Regions from separate parts of the Homo sapiens genome. Here region 1 is linked to region 2. The links are contacts of gene promoters, found by promoter capture Hi-C in blood cells and fetal thymus (Javierre and others, 2016). All regions are on one chromosome and are shown on one strand. The core of a region is centred on a gene start or on the middle of the fragment in contact, and the rest is flanking DNA. Distances in the headings are between cores, read along the strand shown. Region 1 has its middle 77 kb from the start of LDLRAD4. Region 2 holds the start of PTPN2 (protein tyrosine phosphatase non-receptor type 2).

What was found. The method cuts DNA at HindIII sites, captures the fragments that hold promoters and counts their contacts. A CHiCAGO score of 5 or more calls a contact.
Region 1: a contact is called between a fragment that was not itself captured here and the fragment with the promoter of PTPN2 in region 2, in 1 of 17 cell types (naive B cells). The highest score is 5.3, in naive B cells.

Annotation. Positions count from the first base shown.
Region 1 is chr18:13,139,041-13,143,502 of GRCh38, reverse strand. It overlaps the pseudogene LOC646203. Among named protein-coding and RNA genes, the nearest start is that of LDLRAD4, 77 kb to the left of the region's middle. The HindIII fragment of the contact is 4,042 bases long and covers 1-3,874 here.
Region 2 is chr18:12,882,727-12,887,712 of GRCh38, reverse strand. PTPN2 (protein tyrosine phosphatase non-receptor type 2) reads left to right here and starts at 3,476. Exons shown (of 9, transcript NM_002828.4): 1 at 3,476-3,640. The coding sequence starts at 3,572. RefSeq lists silencers at 1,855-1,904, 3,264-3,553, 3,934-4,273. The HindIII fragment of the contact is 3,601 bases long and covers 2,390-4,986 here.

The DNA of each region.
Region 1 (4,462 bases), core at 604-3,103, 260 kb before region 2:
TGTCCTCTGCTAGATTTTTTTTTTTTTTTTTGGCAGGATCTTGCTGTCACCCAGACTGGATGGAGTTCAGTGGTGTGATCCTGGTTCATTGCAGCCTCCACATCCTGTATTCAATTGATACTCCTATCCCAGCCTCCCAAGTAGCTGGGACTACAGGCATGCACCACTGGGCCAGGCTAATTTTTGTATTTTTTGTAGAGATGGAGTTTTGCCGTGTTGCCCAGGTTGATCTCAAACTCCTGGCCTCAAGCAATCCACCCGCCTTGGCCTCCTGATGTGCTAGGATTACAGGCGTGAGCCACCATGCTCAGCCTCCATTTCTAATAAGAGTAAATCTGCTTTGCATACTGGTGGGCAATTTGGCTTTTCACTCAATAATATAGCTTACATTTTTATATCACAACACAAAGCTACTCATTCTATTTTACATGTGTGCGGTGTTGAGTTGCATGAACCAAGATGCGTGTCATCTGTCCTCCAAAAGCAGCACTGAGGTCACTTCTGTTGTGTTATCTGTGCATGCCATGCTGCAGTGAAGCTCCTGGAAGTCATGCCTGTATGCCCTGTGTGTTTACACAGGAGGGACTCTAAAAAGGGAGCTCTGACTGTGTTTGTCTGTTGGAAGCTGAACTTCCAGGTTCCACTCCGTTCCTGGCATCCAGGTTCTTACAGGCTGCTCTGATGCTACTCACTGCTCTGTGTCTTGTGGCTCAGTGAAGAAGAAAGGGGACTCTTGAGCCAACAAGAAGAGTTAGGGCTGGTTGGGTAGACAGCGGGTGTGGGTCTTGGGTCCTTCCTCCTTCCAGAGGGAGGTGGCTGCTGTAGAGACAGCCTCAGCCCCTTTCCCTGAGCAGGGTGACTAAGTTGGTAAAGGCCTCTACAATGTTTCTAGCATGTCTTGGTGTTGAACTGCTCCACTGAGAACATTACATGGGCTCAAGGCTTCAATTTCCTCCATCCAGAAAAGATGGACGTCTCTAATACCAATTAAGTATGCCTAGGATGAGCGGGGCCTCTCTTAGGACCAGGGGGCATCTGCCCAAGTGCATTGTGAAATTGAAGCATTAATACCCAGTGAGGGCCAAGTCAGGACAGTCACAGTAGAGCCAACAATGGTGACCTCTCCTTCCCAAACCTCTAGGGAGTCCGCTGGGTTTACGCAGGCCTGCAAATCTGCACCGTCCTTGGCGATGGCCCTGGAGGCAGCCTGTGTGTCAGGGAAATGTCAGAAGCATGGCGGCCACCTGCTGTAAGAATAGAAGGCCCTGGGAACCTAGGCGGCCGGTGCATCTGACAGAAGCCTGGAACCCGAGACCTGGCAGAGACTCACCAGGGACCTCCCACCGTTAAACACTGTGCTAGGTTGGCCAGGCACGGTGGCTCACGCCTGTAATCCCAGCACTTTGGGAGGCCGAGGCAGGCAGATCACGAGGTCAGGAGATCGAGACCATCCTGGCTAACACAGTGGAACCCCGTCTCTACTAAAAATACAAAAAATTAGCCAGGCGTGGTGGCGGGTGCCTGTAGTCCCAGCTGCTCGGGAGGCTGAGGCAGGAGAATGGCGTGAATCCGGGAGGCAGAGCTTGCAGTGAGCTGAAATCGCGCCACTGCACTCCAGCCTGGGTGACAGAGTGAGACTCTGCCTCAGAAAAAAAAAAAAAAAAAAAAAAAAAAAAAACAAACCGCTGTGCTAGGTTTTGCCTGTTTGGTTGTTTAGCAGGAAAAAAAAGAAAAACAAACAGAAATACATACATACATACATACATACATACATACATACATACATACATACATAATGTCCAAGGATATCCGTTGGTGAGCAGGACAAAACCCTGCCCCTACAGTTTCATTCTGTGACACACAGGACCTCAGTGGGTGAAAGGTACTTTGGTGTCAAACTAGAGGGGAGAGGGATTGGGAGGATGAGAAGTGGGAGTTTTATTCAGAGAAGTTAAGGAAGACCTCACGAAAAAGCCACGCGAGGAACACACAAGGAAGGAGGTGAGAGTCAGATGCAGGGGTCTTGGGTGAGAACATTCCAGGCCAAGGGAGCAGCAGGTGCCAGGCCCCGAGGCGGGGCAGGCCTGGAGCACTGGGCAACCCACATGCCACATGGAGGAAGTGGCTCTCACCACCATCCTGGCCTCTGGAGTCCTTCACATGAGTCACAGAAGAAAAACTTGTTATATCTGAGTATTATTTTTGTGATCTTACTCTTTGACTTAAAACATTTTTTATTGCAGACATTTTATTTATTTATTTATTTATTTATTTTTTATTTATCGAGATGGAGTCTCGCTCTGTCGTCCAGGCTGGAGTACAGTGGCGCAATCTCGGCTCACTGCAACCTCTGCCCCCTGGGTTCAAGCAATTGTCCTGTCTCAGCCTCCCTAGTAGCTGGGATTACAGGTGTGCACTATCACGCCTGGCTAATTTTTGTATTTTTATTAGAGTCGGGGTTTCGCCATGTTGGCCAGGCTGGTCTCGAACTCCTGACCTCAAGTCATCTGCCCACCTTGGCCTCCCAAAGTGCTGGGATTACAGGCATGAGTCACCGCGCCCAGCCAACATTTTACACAAAAGTGGCTGGATGTGGTGGCTCATCCCTCTAATCCCAGCATGTATTGTTCAAGCTCAGTAGTTCACCACCAGCCTGGGCAATGTGGCAAATCCCTGTCTCTACAAAAAAAAAAAAAAAAAAAAAAAAGAAAGAAAAAAAATAGCCGGGGGTGGTGGCATGCACCTGTGGTCCCAGCGACTTAAGAGGGTGAGGTTGGAGGATCACTTGAGCTTGGGAGGCAGAGGTTGCAGTGAGCCAAGATTGAGCCACTGGACTCCAGCCTGGGTGACAGAGCAAGACGACCCTGTCTCAAATAAAATAAAATAAATAGTAAAGTAAACATACACAAAAGTAGAGGAGAGATAATATAAAGCCCTACACATCCACCCCCTGCCATCAGTAATTACCAGCATTGGGGCTGCACCATCTTCCACCACACGTGGCTTCAGAACAATGCCCAAATCCAAGCATGACAAGGAAGTCCCTAACCAAAACTGCCAAGAAAGGCCTGGAATTGAAACAACACCTGATAGAAGAGCTTCGGAAACGTGTGGACACTGATAAGTACCTTTCCATCTCTCTGTGGCCAACACGTGGAACAGCAAGCTGAAGGACATCCGGAATGCCTGGAAGCACAGCCGGATGTTCTTTGGCAAAAACAAGGTGATGATGGTGGCCTTGGGTCGGAGCCCATTGGGTGAGTGCAAAGACAACCTGCACCAGGTCAGCAAAAGGTTGAGGGGTGAAGCGGATCTCCTGTTCACCAACCACTGGAAGGAGGAGGTGAATGAGTGGTTCACAGAATACACGGAAATGGACTTCAGCTGAGCTGTAACAAAGCAGCTTTCACCGTGAGCCTGGACCCAGGGCCCCTGGAGCAGTTCCCCACCCCATGAAGCCACAGCTGAGGCAGCCGGGCCTGCCCACCACCTTTGAGAGAGGTGTGGTGACCCTGCTGTCCGACAATGAGGTGTGCAAGGAGGGCCACCTGCTGGCCCCGGAGCAGGCTGGTGTTCTGATGCTTTCTGGGTATGAGATGGCTGAATTTAAGGTGACCATCAAATACATGTGGGATGTACAGTCAGGAAGGGTCCAGCAGATGGGAGACGACCTGCCAGAGAGCTCATCCAACTCAGCAGAAGAATCAAGACTCAGACGATGATGACTGAAAGGGACTCAGGACTGAAGGTCTCCTGGAACCTTCTGGATCTCACTGGACCACACAGGACTACTGCCACTCCTCTAGAGAGAGCAGCTTATTTGGCTTTTGACAGGGAGTGATGGGCACTGACTGTTCCTGTAAAGAATAAAGCTTTGCAGGATGTCAAATAAAATTTTTTTAAAAAATTACCAGCGTTGTTCAGTTTTGCTTCATGTATTGTTCCCCTCCCAGCTTTTGTCTATTGCTTTGCTAGAGTATTTAAAGGAAATCCCAGAAGACAACACATCATTTTATCCGTATTTGATTCTTTGTATTCCACCAACATAAGGACATTTTATTTATTCATTCATTTATTTATTTATTTTGTTGAGACGGGGTCTCACTGTGACCCAGGCTGGAGTGCAATGGCCATCATGGCTCACTGCAGCCTCCTGAGTAGCTGGGACTACGGGCAGCACCACCATGCCTGGCTAGGTTTTAAAATTTTCTGTAGAGCTGAGGTCATGCTATGTTGCCCAGGCTGGTCTCAAACGCCCGGGCTCACATGATTCTCCCGCCTCAGCCTCCCAAAGTGCTGGGATTACAGGCATGAGCCACCACACTCAGCCAATAAATTTTTAAAAAATTATCATTATCACGCCCAACAAAATTAACAGTACTCCCTTAATAACTAACCCCTTGTCAGTTTTTCAATTTCTCTTGTCTCAAAATGTCTTTTGCCAGGTGGCTTGTTCGAGTCA
Region 2 (4,986 bases), core at 2,227-4,726:
ACTTCTTAATTTTCCTCACTTGTTGCTATAACTATACAGTATAGAACAGAAGTGATGATAGTGGCCATCCTTATCCTGTGTCCAAGCTCAAGTGCGGGTGCAATCACTCAGAAAACTGTTCAGCAGTGTATGATGAACATATAGATACACTGCAATCCAGCAATCCCACTCCTAGACATATGCCCACAAGAAATGAGTGTATGTCTACCAAAAGACAAGGACAAACATGTCCTTAATGGTTCTCTTCATGAGAAGGCCAAACTGGAAACAACCAAATTCAGAACAAATAAATGGTAGTAGACTCAAACAATCATATGCTATTTAGCAGCAAGAATGAACAAACTATTCCTACAACGTGGATGACTCTCACTAACTTGAGCAAAAGCAGTCAGACATTAAAAAGCACATATTATATAATTAAACAAAGTTCAAAAAAGGCAAAACTAATCTACGGTGTTAGAGGGCTTGGGGCTGGTTACTCAAGGGGGAGGATTTAGGATGGCGCTCCAGGGGCTTTCTGGAGGAGAGATAAATTTCCTGTTCTTGGCCTGAGTATTGATAGACAGCTATGTTCACTCTGTAAAAACTCCCTGAGCTATGCACTTGTGATTTGTGTGCATTTTTGTGTATATTTCAATTAAAAGTTTATTAAAAACTACATATATTTAACTGAAGTTCATTCTCACTGTAATCTGTACAATCTGAATTTGTATAACAAATGTCTGCCCAGCTCTATAAATGTACAGCTCTTGTAGACACCAGGCTTTTAGGCTGTATTTTGATATGCTTGTGCCTCTGAAGTTCTAGCTATAAGGGTAGTCTGTTTGTGCTGCTATAATGAAATAGCTGCAACTGTGTCATTTGCAAATAACAGAAATTTATTTCTCACAGTTCTGAAGGCTGAGAAGTCCAAGGTCAAGGCACCAGCAGGTTTGGTGTCTGCTGAAGGCCCATTCCTCATGGTGCCACCTAGGGGCCTTCACATGGCAGGACAGAAGGGCAAAAACGGCCCAAGCTAATTCCCTCCAGTCCTTTTATGAGGCACTAATCAAATTCATGAGAGCAGAACCCTCATAACTTAATCACTTCCCCAAATGCCAACCTCTTAATACTGCCACCATGAGGATAAAGTTTCAACGTGAATTTTGGAGGGGACACCATTATTCAAACCACAGGAGGGGCTATGGGTAGTAAGTAGAGTTTTCTCTGAAAGGGGTATAAATTATACATTGAGGGGAGAGAGCCTCTTAAACAGTATACTAAAGTGCAGAAGGCAGGCCTTGTTCCAGTGAAAGAAGGGACTCCAAACTCTCGCTATGCTTCATTTCCTTTGGTCTAGAGCAGTGGTTCCCAAACAGGGATTGAAGGGGCCAAGGAGTAAGTTGAAGACATTGCTATGAATCCAAATATGTAATCCACCAAGCATTATCTGTAAAATGAGTATCTCATACATATATGTACTATTATTTAAAAATACACTTTGCTACTTAATTTCATAATTCTTTTAAATGAATTTGTAATTTTTTAAATTAATAGACTTTGTTCATTATATATTTCCTCAAATATATAAACAGTATGCACATAAAAGTATGCCTACTATCAAAGGACTTTGAACAATTTGGGGGCAATAGGGAAGCCTGACATTTTAAAATCCTGAGAACTTCTGATCTTGACTTCAAAAGGGGCAAAAGTCTACATTTGGGGTCCTTTAGAAACAGCAAGCTAGGAACTAGTTGGGTTGGGAGTCACATATGTCGGAGAGACCAAGTCATATCTTGTCAGCAGGATATCTCGAAGCAAGTTAACCTCTGTTTTCTTTTTACCCCCGGGCTTCAGTGCAGCCCTGTATAGGTATTCTTCTGGAGCAATCATTCTCAAACTCTGGGGGGGCACAGGCATCCCCAGGAGAGCTTGCTTAAGTAGTCTCCTGGGGCCCCAACACCAGAGATTCTGATTCAGTAGTTTGGGGTGAGGCCTTCAAATTTGCATTTCAAAGAAGCTCACACTGGATGCAAATGATGCTGGTGTGAGAACCACTGTTCTAGATTCTTCGCTGCACTCAGCAAACTAAGATAGGCAAATACAGCTCCCGGAACCAGAGAGGCTGACAAATGAATTCCAAAGAGATGCTGAATACTTGGCGATAAGAACTGCTGCTTTGAGATAAAGATGCTCCTCCTTTGTAGAACACAGTATTTTTTGGTTGGAAAGCAATCTGATGAGCAGACTAATGCGAACATTCACAGGATATTCTGGGAGATACCATGCCTTTAATCAAAATAATCAGATTCAATGACAGAATTTCAGAACCAAGGACCATTAGACATTGTGGGGTCTTTCGGGGGAAGCTTTCCTGTATCTCTAAATCATACTATGTAAGTAGAAAGCTTGCTGACTGCTTTTTTGTTAATACGATTTCTTCTAGCTTCCGTAGCCAACTTTTTTTTTTTTTTTTCTGGCTAGGGTTTTCATTATTTTATGTGATTAAGGACACTTTTCTGCCCCAAGTATTGTAATCCTCTCGGCCGGCTCTGTCCAAAAGAACTGTCTTCGATGATAGAAACGTTCTACATATGTACTTTGCCACATAGCAGCCACTAGCCATACATGGTTATGGCACACCTGAAATGTGGCTGGTGCCACTGAGGAATTAAGTTAATATTTAAAATTTAAATCCCAATACTGGACAGCACGGCTAAACCTTTCCTAACCCTTCACGTTTCTTATGAAGATTATATAGCAGGATATTACAAGCACTAAAAAAGAACTATCTTAAATCTGAAGCAAGATGATTTCCCTAACTAGTACGTTTGTTTGGTAAAAGAGGACGTGCTATTTTTTACAGTTAAATCTAATTCGTAAGTTGTAGAACGTTTTCTTAACAAGGTATCCCTCTCCCAAATTCCGGGAGAGGCTGGCTGCCTTTCCTTTTGCTCCAGCGGTTTATTTGGCATAAAATCTGCAGGCTTACAGGAGCTGACACCAGGGCAGAAAAGAATGAGGAATTTGTTTCCAAGTTGGTCACAGGCCGCTAATCTGACCTAGATGATGTTTAAAATAATATTCAAATACAGCACTTTAAAAAACTATGAAGGCTGAGAAGAAAACGAGAAATGGGAAGCAAGAAGGAAGGCGGAGCGTGCCGGCGACTTCTCAGGGGACTTCCTCAGGGAGTCCCATTCCAGTAACCCCGCGCTACCCACGGACCACCGCCTCTCTCTTGTCGGAAGACGCAAGCCCAAGGGGCGGCTCACCTCGTGCCGCGCGCAGGGACCACGGCCGCCGGGTGGTCCCCTGGCCCCGCCCCCTCCCACCTGGGCACCCCGAGCCCCGCCCCCCGAGCGCCCCGCCCCGCCCCGCCGCCGACTTCGCGCCGCGCTCGGGCGCCGAGTCTGCGCGCTGACGTCCGACGCTCCAGGTACTTTCCCCACGGCCGACAGGGCTTGGCGTGGGGGCGGGGCGCGGCGCGCAGCGCGCATGCGCCGCAGCGCCAGCGCTCTCCCCGGATCGTGCGGGGCCTGAGCCTCTCCGCCGGCGCAGGCTCTGCTCGCGCCAGCTCGCTCCCGCAGCCATGCCCACCACCATCGAGCGGGAGTTCGAAGAGTTGGATACTCAGCGTCGCTGGCAGCCGCTGTACTTGGTGAGTCGCGGACCCACGCGGCAGTCGCCGACCTCCTCCGAGACCCGGACTCGTGCCCTGTCCGCAGGGTCCCTCCCGCCTCCCCCGCCTCTCGCCTCTAGCCTCTCGCTCGGGGCGGAAGTGGCGGCGCGGTCCGCGTCAGGGGCGCGCCTGCGCTGACCGCTCTCTTGCTCCTTTTGGTTTAAAAAAAAAAAAAAAAAAAGCATACTTGAGCTGAGCAGCTCATGGTTAGCGCAAGCGCAGTTAGTTCTGGAGGGCGGTGCCACAGCGGCTTCTTGGGGAGCGCGTGGATGCGCCACCAGCGTTGCGCGGCCCGGGTCTGGGGGTCCTTGGGAAAGCCGTGGGGGCGCTCGGGCGCGCGCCCCCGGGCCGCAGCTTCGCCGTAGCTCCCACGCCGCTGTGCTTGGTTCTTGCTCGCGGACAGCTCTTTCTCTGGCCGGGTGTTTTGTGGCCGGGTGGGCAGCTGGCGTCCCCGGGAGCGGTGAGGGCGGGGGCGGGCGAGCCGGGCCGCGGCGTCCGGGTCCAGCTGGCGCCCGCGCAGGACCTGTGGGAGCAGGCCGCTCTGGGCGCCGGGCCGGCCGCCGCAGCCCTCTGCGAGGCGAAGCTCGCTCTCCTGGCGGAGCCGCGGTGGTTGGGGGTGGCTCGTGGCCTCTGGCGAGGGCAGCGCTCTCGGGACCCTCCGTCTTCATTTTCCCCCGTGGCCCAGCAGCGCCCAGCGTGGGTTCGGCCCCCATAGAACCTTCCCGGAACGAAAGAGGCTTTGCTTGTGTTCGTCCAGTGATAGCGTGTCATTCTCTTTATAGTTTTCCTTACTGAGGTATACTTTCCCTACAGTGAAACGCAGCTTTCATGTGTGCTCCCAGACGGGTGTCACAAATGAATCCCCTCTTGCAAGCCCCCTCAAATCAAAATAGCCTTTCCTTGCCCTGAGAAAGTGCCCTCATCCCCTCCCCGGGGGCACGGTGTTCCGATGCCTATCGCCCTAATCGTGCCTGTTCAGCTCACATAGATGCAATATGTAGTATAAACACCTGTGATTCGCTTTTTTTATGTCAACTAGACTACCTTTTAATTCAAACAAAACTTTATCTCTTTTAAAATGATGTAACTGCTTTCCCCTTCGTTTAATCCTTGTCGTATTATTCCCAAGATTGAATTTGGTGACGGTTAAGTTAATGCTGCTTCTGATGTTTGGTTCTCTCTGTGTAAAGTAAAAGACGGGCTTTCCTGTAAATGGATGATCCTGGGTTTTTCCCCTTTCCATTTAATTAGATGGCAGTGAAAAATGTGTTCAGAAAGTAACGTTTTCTTCTTGAACACATTAGTGGGAAGTATAAATATTCTGA